Linked DNA regions of Homo sapiens: region 2 is linked to region 1. The links are contacts of gene promoters, found by promoter capture Hi-C in human tissues and cell types (Jung and others, 2019). All regions are on one chromosome and are shown on one strand. Each heading gives the region's core, a stretch centred on a gene start or on the middle of the fragment in contact. The rest is flanking DNA. Distances are from core to core; before and after follow the strand shown. Region 1 holds the start of GPATCH3 (G-patch domain containing 3). Region 2 overlaps WDTC1 (WD and tetratricopeptide repeats 1).

Region 1 (6,114 bases), core at 916-3,415:
GGCTCCTGATGAACTTTTTTTTTCTTTTTTTTGAGACAGATTCTCACTCTGTCACCCAGACTGGCGTATGCAGTGGTGCAATCTCAGCTCACCGCAACCTCCGCCTCCCGGGTTCAAGTGATTCTCATACTTCAGCTTCCCAAGTAGCTGGGATTACAGGCATGTGCCACCATGCCTGGCTGATTTTTGTATTTCTAGTACAGACAGGGTTACGCCATGTTGTCCAGGCTGGTCCTGGCCTCAAGTGATATCTACCCACCTGATGACCTTTTGATTCTCGGCTGTCACCAACTCCCACCTCCTGCATGTCTTCATACGATGTGTTCCAGCCACACCAAACAATTTTTCTCCTAATTTCTTTTTTTTCTTCTTTTTTTTTTTTTGAGATGGGGTCTCGTTCTGTCACCCAGGCTGGAGTACAGTGGCGCGATCTTGACTCATTGCAACCTCCACCTCCTGGGCTCAAGTGATCCCCCCACCTCAACCTCACAAGTAGCTGGGACTACAGGCATGCGCCACCACAACCGGCTAATTTGTATTTTTGGTAGAGACAGGGTTTCACCATGTTGCCCAGGCTGGTATGGAACTCCTGAGCTCAAGAGATCCACCCACCTGTGCCTCCCAAAGTGCTGGGATTACAGGCACGAGCCATTGCAACCCAGCCCACAATGAACAATTTAACATGCCCTGAAAGTTTTTCACGGGCTTTCAAAGCTGTGTCTTTGCAAACGCCATTTACCCTGAAACCCAGAAACACCATTCTCTCCTATTAACTCCTATTTATTTTTCAAGACCCAGATGGAAAGCCACATTTCATGATCCATCTAGGAAGTTAGTTTCTCCCTTCTCTGTCATCTCACAGCACTTGGTGATAAACAGTATAGGCTCTGGAACAGATGCCTAGGTTTGTTGTAGCTCTGACACTAACTAACTCTGTAACCTCAGGCAAGTCACATAACTTCGGCTTCCCTCAGTTTCTTCACCTATGAAATGGGAGAAACAACAGCTCCTATCTCATAGGACTGTTGAGAGGGGTAAGAAAACAAAAGGCTTAGAACAGCGCCTACTAAATACAGAGTGCTCAGTGAATGCTAACAATTAGAATGACATCTCTGTGGCAATAACCTTTTTCCAAATGTCTTCCTTTGTGGATTCTGAGCACACACTATGTCCAACTGTTCTCTGCATACCCAGCTAGTCACACTAGGTCTAGCAATGTAAGCATTTGTTGAATGTGTGAACTGGAGGGCTCTGCACTGTCCTGTTTCCCCATCAAACTGATTTCCCATGAAAGTGGGAGCTGTCCAGAGAAAAGATTGTCTCTTCATTTGTATCTTACTGAAAGGACTGGGTAGGAAGCACAGAGAGAGCAGGAGAGAAAGACAGTAAAAGGGTTAGAGACTGGATTTCCTTTTTTCTTTCTGTGTTAGTGCAAAATCAACCCCTTGGATAGAGAAAGGGTCTCAAAAGGGACCTAACAAAATGAAGGCTCTTCCGAATAAGCCTCTCCGGTTTATTTTTCTCCATGTATTGGACTAACTCCCTGCAAGTTGAGCCTGAAGCTCTGTCTAGAATATGAACTAAACTCATAGAGTCCTAACCAGAGGCCTGACTTATCCTCACCACTCCTCTGAAAAGGTGCCTCTGTTCCAGGCCCGTAGGCCCAGTCTATTAACTTTCTCACTCTTACCTGATGCCTCCGTAGGTAGCCGAAGTCTGCGGATGAGACAGCGACCCGGTAGCCAAGTCCCGTGAGAATCCAGCCACCGGCGGCCCGAGTACATGCGAATAAGCCTCTGAGCTTGAGCCAACCCCCTTACCGAGATGACGCAGCAGCAGGTGCGGGTCTGGATTGGAGTAGAGTCTCGAGTGGAGAGAGGCCGGACATCGGTGGCCGAAGTCTGAGAGAGAAGCTGGCCCTCAGCGGCTGGGTCGGTAGGAATTAGGGCAGAGTTAGGAGCGGCCTGCGGAGGGGCCCGCTCAGGCCGATGCCGGTAGTGGAAACAGAGGAAGCCACCGCCGCGCTCTTCTCGGAACTGGCTAAAATAGCTCCGTAAATGGGCCGAGCGCAACACGGAGGGGATACCGCTCACTACCAGGTAAACTGTCGCCTCCTCCTCCGCCTCGCCGGGCACCGCCATCTTGGATTGTCACATGATCAGCTAGAACCAAGTCTCGCGAGAACACCGCGAGCAACGTTCCAGCCCCTGCGTTGCGAGATTGTGAAAATTCTAACTAGTCCTTTGGGATTGGGGTTGTGGAACCTGGAGCTGGAAGATCCGAAGTCTTCTGTGTTCCTTTCCCACAGAGGGAAGCCGGCGATGATGGAAAAACTCACCTGGAAAATGGGGTCATAGAGTTCTTTCATAAAGCTCTCATGAGGACCAAATAAGAAGCCTGCGGGAGGGGTCATTTTTGAGGTATTTAGTTGTGGATATTGCACACCTAATCTCAACCTTCCTCAGTTCTGAACCTTTAGTCGTTCTTCCATTTATTTTTCCAAAATGTGTTGATGAACTCCCACAAATCGGTAAGAAAAAGATAACCCGGTAGAAAAATGGGCCGAAGATACTTCGCAAAAGAGGAAACACGCAGGTCCAATTTACAATGAAAGTGCTATGAGTTACTAGAGGCTTACGTTAAAGAAAAGATGCACAACTCAATAATAAAAGAAATGCAGCGAGACCCACTTTGCATCCACTATGTTGGCAAACTTTAAAACCTTAGAGTCGATGACAACATGGTGGAACTGAAGCTCTCATACACTGTTGGTGGAAATGTAAGTTGATACAACCACTTTGGGAAACAATTGGCGTTATCTAGTAAAAGCAAAGCTACACATCATTTGACTCAGCACTTGTAGGTAATATTTTATTTATTTTTGAGTTGGGGTCTCGCTCTGTCGCCCAGGCTGGAGTGCTGGGACCACAGATGCAACCCACTATGCCTGGCTAATTTTTTAAACTATTTGTAGAGATGGGGTCTCACTGCATTGCCCAGGCTGGTATTGAACTCCAGGGCTCAAGTGATCCACTGGCCTCAGCCTCCCAAAGTGTTAGGATTACAGGTGTGAGCCACGGTCCCCGCCTTTTTGTCTTTTTTTTTTTTTTTTTTTTTTTTTGAGATGGAGCCTCGCTCTGTCATCCAGGCTGGAGTGCAATGGTGCGATCTCGGCTCACTGCAACCTCCGCCTCCCGGGTTCAAGCAATTCTCCTGTCTCAGCCTCCCGAGTAGCTGGGACTACAGGTGCGTGCCACCACGCCCGGCTAATTTTTGTATTTTTAGTAGAGACGGGGTTTCACCATATTGGTCAGGCTGGTCTCGAACTCCTGACCTCAGGTGATCCACCCGCCTTGGCCTCCCAAAGTGCTGAGATTACAGATGTAAGCCACCGCACCCGGCCCTCTTTGTACGTTTTTTAATTGGGTTATTTGATTACTATTGATTCATTGATTCATAATTCAGACAAAGTCTACACATTATACTGGGTGATAGGAGGAACCTGTAGATTGAGAGACCTCAAACAAAAGCAAAAAATAAAGGGCCAAGCTCAGTGGTTCACGCCTGTAATCCCAGCACTTTGGCAAGCTGGTGTAGGAGGATCCCTTGAGCTTAGAAGTTTGAGACCAGCCTGGCCAAGTTGGCAAGACCCTTGTCTAAACAATAAAAAAAATGACTGCACATGTTTATCAGAAGACTTATTGATAATGTTGACTTTTACCCAAGCCCTGTGATCCTGGAAAACTAAGGCTTAAGAAATGCCTTCCCACTGTTTTGTGTTCTGGAACACAGCATATTGCAAAAAAACATCCTTCCCCAAGTGAGTTAGGTAAGACTGGTGTATGCCCCTCTGGTTCACCAATGACAAAGCCAGACACAGACTCCATATTCCAAATCTCCTCATGAAAGCTTTGAGGAACTTCTTGTCCCCACTGATCAGTTGGAACAAACTTTGGTTAAAACTTCTCTCCTTCCCCCAGCTTCCCGAACTTTGGCTTACCCTCAGCTTGAGCCAGCGCACATCTCCTCCTTAACAGCCTCTCCTGAGAATAGGCTGGCTTCAAGGTAAAGCATTATCTGATCTACTGTCCCATCATGCCACTCCTGATCATCCCACTTCCTCCCACCCAGTTCTGCCCTGTTTACTCCTCTGTATGAGAGAAGAACCCTTTTTGCCTAACCCTTGAGTCACTTGCAGATATTATGGTCAGAGGGTCCTCCCTGCTGCAATATTCTTCCTCCTTCTATTGCAATAGTTCCTTTCTTCCCTTGCAATAATCCTTTCAAATAAAATCTCTCCTGGCAGGGTGTGGTAACTCACACCTGTAATCTTAGCACGTCGGGAGGTTGAGGTCGGAGGATCACTTGAGCCCAAGAGAGCAAGGCTGCAGTGAGCCATGATTGTGCCATGCATTCGGTGGGCAGCAGAATGAGAATCTGTCTCAAAAAAAAAAAAAATTATAATGGCTGGGCGCAGTGGCTAATGCCTGTAATCCCAGCACTTTGGGAGGCTGAGGTGGGCGGATCACTTGAGGTCCAGAGTTCGAGACCAGCCTGGCCAACATGGTGAAACCCCGTCTCTACTAAAAATACAAAAATTAGCCACTCATGGTGGTATGCGCCTGTAATCTCAGCTCCTCAGGGAAGCTGAGGCACGAGAATCGCTTGAACCCAGGAGGCGGAGGTTGCAGTGAGCTGAGATCACACCACTGCACACTCCATCCTGGGCAACAGAGCGAGACTCTGTCTCAAAAAAAAAAAAATTATAATAAAATCTCTCCTTACCAAGCCTGGATTTGTTTTTTATTTCACAGTATATATAAATATTCATAGCTACAGTCTTTTTAAGTGCAAAAAGCTGGCTTTTTGTACTAATAATCTCAGTTAAAGCCAGTCAGAAAACACAGAATTGTTTTATTTATGCAAAGTTCCAAAAATGCAAACTAAAAAATATTCTTAGGGCTACATAAATAAATAAGCTTTAAAATCAGGAAGAAAAGCAAATAAATGATTAACATAAAATCCAGGGTAGTTGTTACCTTTGGAGGGAAATGATAGATTTAGAAAGGGACTTCAAAGTTAATGGTAATAATGACCTATGAAACAATAGAGTTCATTCTGTTATTCTTTATACTTTACACATATTTATTAATATTATTTTGTTTTACTCAATGTTTAAAATGTAAAAATATTAAAAGTGAAAATAACTCATTTCAGAAAGCAATAGTTACCTTGTGATAGCAAATATACAGCTATATGATGAATTTTAAAAATTGGAAAACATGGCCAGGCATGGTGGCTCATGCTTCTAATCCCATCGCTTTGAGAGGCCGAGGCAGAAGGATTGCTTGAGGCCAGGAGTTGGAGACCAGCCTGGGCAACATAGTGAGACCCTGTCTCTACAAAAAATAATAAAAATAAAAAATAAGCCGGGCGCGGTGGCTCACACCTGTAATTCCAGCACTTTGGGAGGCCGAGGTGGGCGGATCACAAGGTCAGGAGATTGAGACCATCCTGGCTAACACGGTGAAACCCCATCTCTACTAAAAATACAAAAAAATTAGCTGGGCGTGGTGGCGGGCACCTGTAGTCCCAGCTACTCGGGAGGCTGAGGCAGGAGAATGGTGTGAACCCGGGAGGCGGAGCTTGCAGTGAGCCGAGATCGCGCCACTGCACTCCAGCCTGGGTGACAGAGCAAGACTCCGTCTCAAAATAAATAAATAAATAAATAAATTAAATAAATAAATAATAAATAAATAAATAAAAATACAAAAATAAAAATAAAAAAGTCTAATGAGTGAGAAATTGTAGATAGGACCATTATATCTAGGTTTAAACCCACATCATATCTGGATTTTATTTATTTTTTATTTTATTACATACTTTTTTTTTTTTTTTGTCACCCAGGCTGGAGTGCATGCAGTGATGCAATCTTGGCTCACTGCAACCTCTGCCTGCCGGGTTCAGGCCATTCTCCTGCCTCAGCCTCCTATCCTAAGTAACTGGGACTACAGGCAAGCACCACACCCAGCTAATTTTTGTATTTTTAGTAGAGACGGGGTTTCATCATGTTGACCAGGCTGATCTTGAACTCCTGGCCTCAAGTGATCCACC
Region 2 (6,114 bases), core at 1,115-3,614, 340 kb after region 1:
GATTCACCCACCTCGGCCTCCCAAAGTGCTGGGATTACAGGCGTGAGCCACCGCACCCAGGCGACCCTGTCTCTTAAAAGCTCAAACAGCAATACGGAGCCCACTGGGCAGGGGAGAAGACATCAAGGTGAGTTTTTATCTAAAGCTTCCCAGAAAGTAAAGCATTGCTTAGAAGCAGCTCTCTTCTGCAGAGAAAACCTCAAGCAGTCCTACATGGGATTATTTAAGCCAGGAGCCTCAAAGATGGCTAAGAAGTTTCCTGAAGATGCTTTGGTGATGAGTCTATCCTACCAGCGAAAGCTTTCCCAGAAACTGTCCTTGTACCAACTTAGTCCATGACCTTGAAATGGCACTCTTTAAATTTGTGTTTGAGATCAGCAGAGTCAAGGCAGCTTAACCCTAAGGAATGGTAAGAGACAAAGTTTCAGCAGCTTCCTGAAATTGTATCAATACTGATATTACAGGTGTGAGCCGCTGCTCCCTGGCCAGTAATTTTTTTTTTTTTTTTTTTTTTTTTTGAGACAATGTCTCACTCTGTCACCCAGGCTGAAGTGCAGTGGCATGATCTCGATCTTGGCTCACTGCAACCTCTGCCTCCTGAGTTCAAGTGATTCTCCTGCCTCAGCCTCCCCAGCAGCTGGGATTACAGGCGCCTGCCACCATGTCCGGCTAATTTTTGTATTTTTAATAGAGACAGGGTTTCACCACATTGGCCAGGCTGGTCTGGAACTCCTGACCTCAAGTGATCTGCCCGCCTTGGCCTCCCAAAGTGCTGGATTACAGGTGTGAGCCACCACACCCGGCCCAGTAATTATTATTTAGTGGCCAATGGCCTGGCCCCTGGAGTCAGACTGTATAGGTTGACTCTCTGTCTAAGAACTGTGTAGCTTTGGCAACTTCACTTTTCTGTGCCTCAGATCCTGCATCTGTAAGATGAGGATAACAATAGCACCTGTCTCATAGGATTATTATGAGGAGTCTGTGAGATGACACTTGTAAACTGTTAGAATGTTCAATAAATATTATTTAATAGGATCAGTGTCAGGCATTTTACATGCAAGCGCTTCTGTTCCTCCTCACCCTGCAGAGGTAGGTATTATCAGATTAGGAAACTAAGGTTTAGAAGTGTCAAGTCAGGGTCTGGCATGGTGACTCATGCCTATAATCCCAACACTTTGGGAGGCTGAGGTGGGCAGATCGCTTGAGCCCAGGAGTTCGAGACCAGCCTGGGCAGCATGGTGAAACCCCATCTCTACAAAAAAAAAAAAAAAAAATGCAAAAATTAGCCAGGTGTGTGTGGGTGGTGCATGCCCGTGGTCCCAACTACTCGGGAGGCTGATGAGATGGGAGGATCTCTTGGGCCCGGGAGGCAGAGGTTGCAGTGAGCTGAGATCATGCTACCACACTCCAGCCTGGGTGACAGAGCCAGACCCTGTCTCAAAACAAATAAAAATTTTTTTAAAAAAATTAAAAAGATGAAGAGACGTAAGAGGTATAGAAAAGAAAAAAAAATTTAAAAGAAATGTCAAGTCAGACAGAAAATAGGTGTCAGAACTGGGATTTGAACCTAAGATCTGTTAGGTCCACAGCTACACTCTTCATTTTATTATGCTCTTTCTTTCTTTTGTTTTGTTTTGTTTTTGAGACAGCGCCTCACTTTGTCACACGGGCTGGAGTGCAGAGGCACAATCATAGCTCAATATAGCCTCAAACTCCTGGGCTCAAGCAATTCTCCCTCCTCCCTCCTGCCTCAGCCTTCCTAGTAGCTAGGACTACAGGAGTGTGCCACCATGCCTGGCTAATTTTTAAAAAACTTTTTTATAGAGACAGGATCTTACTCTGTTGCCCAGACTGCTCTCGACCTCCCGGCCTTCAAGTGATCCTCCTGCCTCGGTCTCCCAAAGCACTGAGATTACAGGCATGAGCTACCACACCTGGCCTTATGTTATTTCCAATGACCTTTATGCATTGAAAGTGAAGTTGAGTCCTTGCTTCGTTGCATCTTTCATCTTTTTTGTAGGATTGCTCCAATAGAACCACTATAAATAGAGTGAAAGGAAACTTGCATACATCTTTGCATAATTCAGAATGTTGAAAGGGGGTCAGTTGTCACCCTGGTTGGGGGCACGTCTCTGCTATGGGAGGTAGCATGTCCAGAGGAAAGAGAATACAGATGTTTTAGGTTCCATCTCTGGTCTGCTGCTAACCAGTAGTGTCTACTTAAAATCTCAGCATAGTGTCATCGGAAGGGGTTTTGTAGCTTATCTCAGAGTCCACCTCTCATTTTACAAACGGCAGAATAGACTGAGAGAGCAAAATGCCTCACTCAGGGTCATACAGCCAGTTAAAGGCAGAGGCTGGCTTGGAGCACAAGACCCTAGATCTCCCAGTCCAGTGCTTCTTCCTCAGTACCATGTAGTATTCTGCTTCACTTCTCCCTTGTTAAATGGGGATTATTATCGTACATGAATATTCATAGCAGCATTATTCATAGCAGCGTTATATTAGCTTTCTAACTTCCTAAAAGGATTGTTGCAAAGTTCAAATTAAAAGCTTGAACAAAAGTGCTTTGATAGGTATAAAACATTGTGTGTAAGGCAGTCATGCCATTATTCATTCAGCAAATATTTATTGGTGCCTGCTAAGCTTACATCACTCCTGGAAGACCAGTGGGATCAATGGATGAATCGGATGAAGAGCAGGCCCTCAGCATGCTTTTAATCTTCTAAGAAAGAGAAGCCACGTAAATAACCACAGCTCAAGGTAGGAGACAGATGAAGGAAAGGCTAAGAATGGAATTTTCTTTCCATAACCTGTGATTTTGAGGTAGAGAAAAGAAAGGGTTTTTTTTGGTTTTTTTTTTTTGTTTGTTTGTATTTTTGAGACAGAGTCTTGCCCTGTCACCCAGGGTGGAGTGCAATGGCGCAATCTCGGCTCACTGCAACCTCCGCCTCCCGGGTTCAGACGATTCTCCTGCCTCAGCTTCCCGAGTAGCTGGGATTATAGGTGCCTGCCACCATGCACAGCTAATTTCTGTATTTTTAGTAGAGACGAGCTTTCACCATGTTGGCCAGGCTGGTCTCGAACTCCTGACCTCCTGGTCCACCCGCCTTGGCCTCCCAGAAAGTGCTGGGATTACAGGCATGAGCCACTGTAATCCTATGGGACATGCTATGGGAGGTAGCATGTCCAGAGGAAAGAGAATACAGATGTTTTAGGTTCCATCTCTGGTCTGCTGCTAACCAGTAGTGTCTACTTAAAATCTCAGCATAGTGTCATCGGAAGGGGTTTTGTAGCTTATCTCAGAGTCCACCTCTCATTTTACAAACGGCAGAATAGACTGAGAGAGCAAAGGGTTTAAGGTATTTCTTCTTTATTGACATATAATTCACGTACCATAAAATAGACAGTCTCTTAAATTATACAATTCATTGGTTTTAATATAGTCACAAAGTTGTGCAACTTGTCACCACTATCTAATTCCAAAACATTTTCATCACCTAAAAAAGAAACACATACCCTTGAGCTATCACATTCCTCCCCAACACTCCCATCTCTTTCTGTCTCTGTAGGTTTTCCTATTCTTGACATTTCACATAAATAGAACCATACGACATGTAGTCTTTTGTGACTGGCTTCCTTCACTTAGCAGAATGTTTTGAAGTTTCTTCCATGTTGTTGTATGAATTAGTACCTCATTCCTTTTTATGGCTGCATAATATTCCATTACAGTGGATATTAACACATTATATTTATTCATCAATTGATGGCCATTTGGGTTGTTTCTAATTTGGGCTATTATGAATAATGCTGCTCTGAGTATTCATGTACAGCTTTTTGTATGGACATGTGTTTTCTTTCCTTTTTTTTTTTTAGACTGAGTCTTGCTTTGTCACTCAGGCTGGAGTGCAATGGCACGATCTGGGCTTACTGCAACCTCCGCCTTCCAGGTTTAAGCGATTCTTCTGCCTCAGCCTCCTGAGTAGCTGGGATTACAGGTGCCCGCCACCACGCCCGGCTAATTTTTGTATTTTTAGTAGAGATGGGGTTTCACCATGTTGGCCAGGCTGGTCTTGAACTCCTGACCTCAGGTGATCTGCCCACCTCGGCCTCCCAAAGTGCTGGGATTACAGGCGTGAGCCACCACGCCCAGCCATTTTTTTTTTTTTTTTTTTTTCGAAACAGGGTCTCACTCTGTCACCCAGCCTGGAGTCCAGTGCCACAAACATAGCTCACTGCAGCCTCAAACTCCTGGGCCTAAGTAATCCTCCTACCTCGGACTCCCAAAGTGCTGGGATTACAGACGTGAGCCACCGCACCCAGCCTATTTCTGCATTATTATTTATTTAATTAATTAAACTTTTTTTTGAGACAGAGTCTCCCTCTGTTGCCCAGGCTGGAGCAGAGTGGCATGATCTCAGCTCACTGCAACCTCTGCCTCCTGGGTTTAAGCGATTCTCCTGCCTCAGCCTCTCGAGTAGCTGGGATTACAGGTGCCTGCCACCACGCCTGGCTAATTTTTGTATTTTTAGTAGAGACGAGGTTTTACCACGTTGGCTAGGCTGGTCTTGAACTTCTGACCTTAAGTGATCCACCTGCCTCAGCCTCCCAAAATGCTGGGATTAGAGATGTGAGCCACTGTGCCCAGCCTTGTGCAGGTTTTTTATACAGGTAAACTCATGTCATGGTGGTTTGTTGTGCAGATTATTTTGTTACCCAGGTACTAAGCCTAGTACTCAATAGTTATTTTTTCTGATCCTCTTCCTCTTCCCACCCTCCACCCTCAAGTAGGTTCCAGTGTCTGTTGTTCCCTTCTTTGTGTCCATGAAGTCTCATCATTTAGCTTCCACTTACAAGTTAGAACATGCCATATTTGGTTTTCTGTTTCTGCTTTAGTTTGCTGAGGATAATGGCCTCCGGCTCCATTCATGTTCCTGCAAAGGATATGATCTCATTCTTATGGCTGCATGGTCATTCCATGGTGTACATGTACCACATTTTCTTTCTTTTTTTTTTTTTTTTTCTTTGTGAGATGGAGTTTCACTCTTGTTGCCCAGCCTGGAGTGCAATGGCGTAGTCTCAGCTCACTACAACCTCTGCCTCCCGGGTTCAAGTGATTCTCCTGCCTCAGCCTCCCAAGTAGCTGGGATTATAGGCACCTGACACCATGCCTGCCTAATTTTATAGTGTTAGTAGAGACGGGGTTTCTCCACGTTGGCCAGGCTGGTCTTGAACTGCTGACCTCAGGTGATCTGCCCGCCTCGGCCTCCCAAAGTGCTGGGATTACAGGCGTGAGCCACTGTGCCCAGCCTGTACCACATCTTCTTTATCCCATCTGCTGTTGATGAGCATTTAGGTTGATTCCATGTCTTGCTTATTGTGAATAGTGCCACAATTAACATACTGCACAGTGTGTGTGTCTTTATGGTGAAACTATTTATATTCCTTTGGGTATATACCCAGTAATAGGATTGCTAGGGCAAATGGTAGTTCTGTTTTTAGCTCTTTGAGGAATCTTCACACTGCTTTCCACAATGGTTGAACTAATTTACACTCCCACTAACAGTGTAAAAGTGTTGCCTTTTCTCTGCAACCTCACCAGCATCTGTTATTTTTTGACTTTTTAATAATAGCTATCCTGACTAGTGTGAGATGGTATCTCATTGTGGTTTTGACTTGGATTTCTCTATTGATCAGTGATACTGAGCTTTTTTTCATATGCTTGTTGGCCACATGTATGTCTTCTTTTGAAAAGTGTCTGTTCATGTCCTTTGCCCACTTGATGGGATTGTTTTTTTCTTACACATTTGTTTAAGTTCCTTATAGATGCTGGATATTAGACCTTTGTCAGATGCATAGTTTGCAAGTATTTTCTCCCATCCTATAGGTTGTCTGTTAATGATACACTTTAAAATGATTAGTTTCATCTTATGTGAATTTCACTTAAAAACTTTTTATTATTATTTTTTTTTATTCAGAGTCTTGCCCTGTCTCCCAGGCTGGAGTGCAGTGGTGTGATCTTGGCTCACTGTAGCCGAAACCTCCTGGGCTCAAGCAGTCCTCCCACCTCAGCCTCCCAAGTAGCTGGGACTGTAGGTGTGCCACCACGCCCAG

What was found. Contacts are between HindIII fragments. The study calls those that stand out against the background at their distance.
Region 2: a contact is called between a fragment that was not itself captured here and the fragment with the promoter of GPATCH3 in region 1, in 1 of the 25 tissues and cell types used here (IMR-90 fibroblasts).

What each region holds. Positions count from the first base shown.
Region 1 is chr1:26,898,302-26,904,415 of GRCh38, forward strand. GPATCH3 (G-patch domain containing 3) reads right to left here and starts at 2,166. Exons shown (of 7, transcript NM_022078.3): 1 at 1,691-2,166. The coding sequence starts at 2,141. It also overlaps a transcript of NUDC not described here. RefSeq lists an enhancer at 2,111-2,230. The HindIII fragment of the contact is 3,671 bases long and covers 774-4,444 here.
Region 2 is chr1:27,242,707-27,248,820 of GRCh38, forward strand. The region is part of intron 1 of WDTC1 (WD and tetratricopeptide repeats 1); the gene reads left to right. Among named protein-coding and RNA genes, the nearest start is that of WDTC1, 11 kb to the left of the region's middle. The HindIII fragment of the contact is 4,284 bases long and covers 223-4,506 here.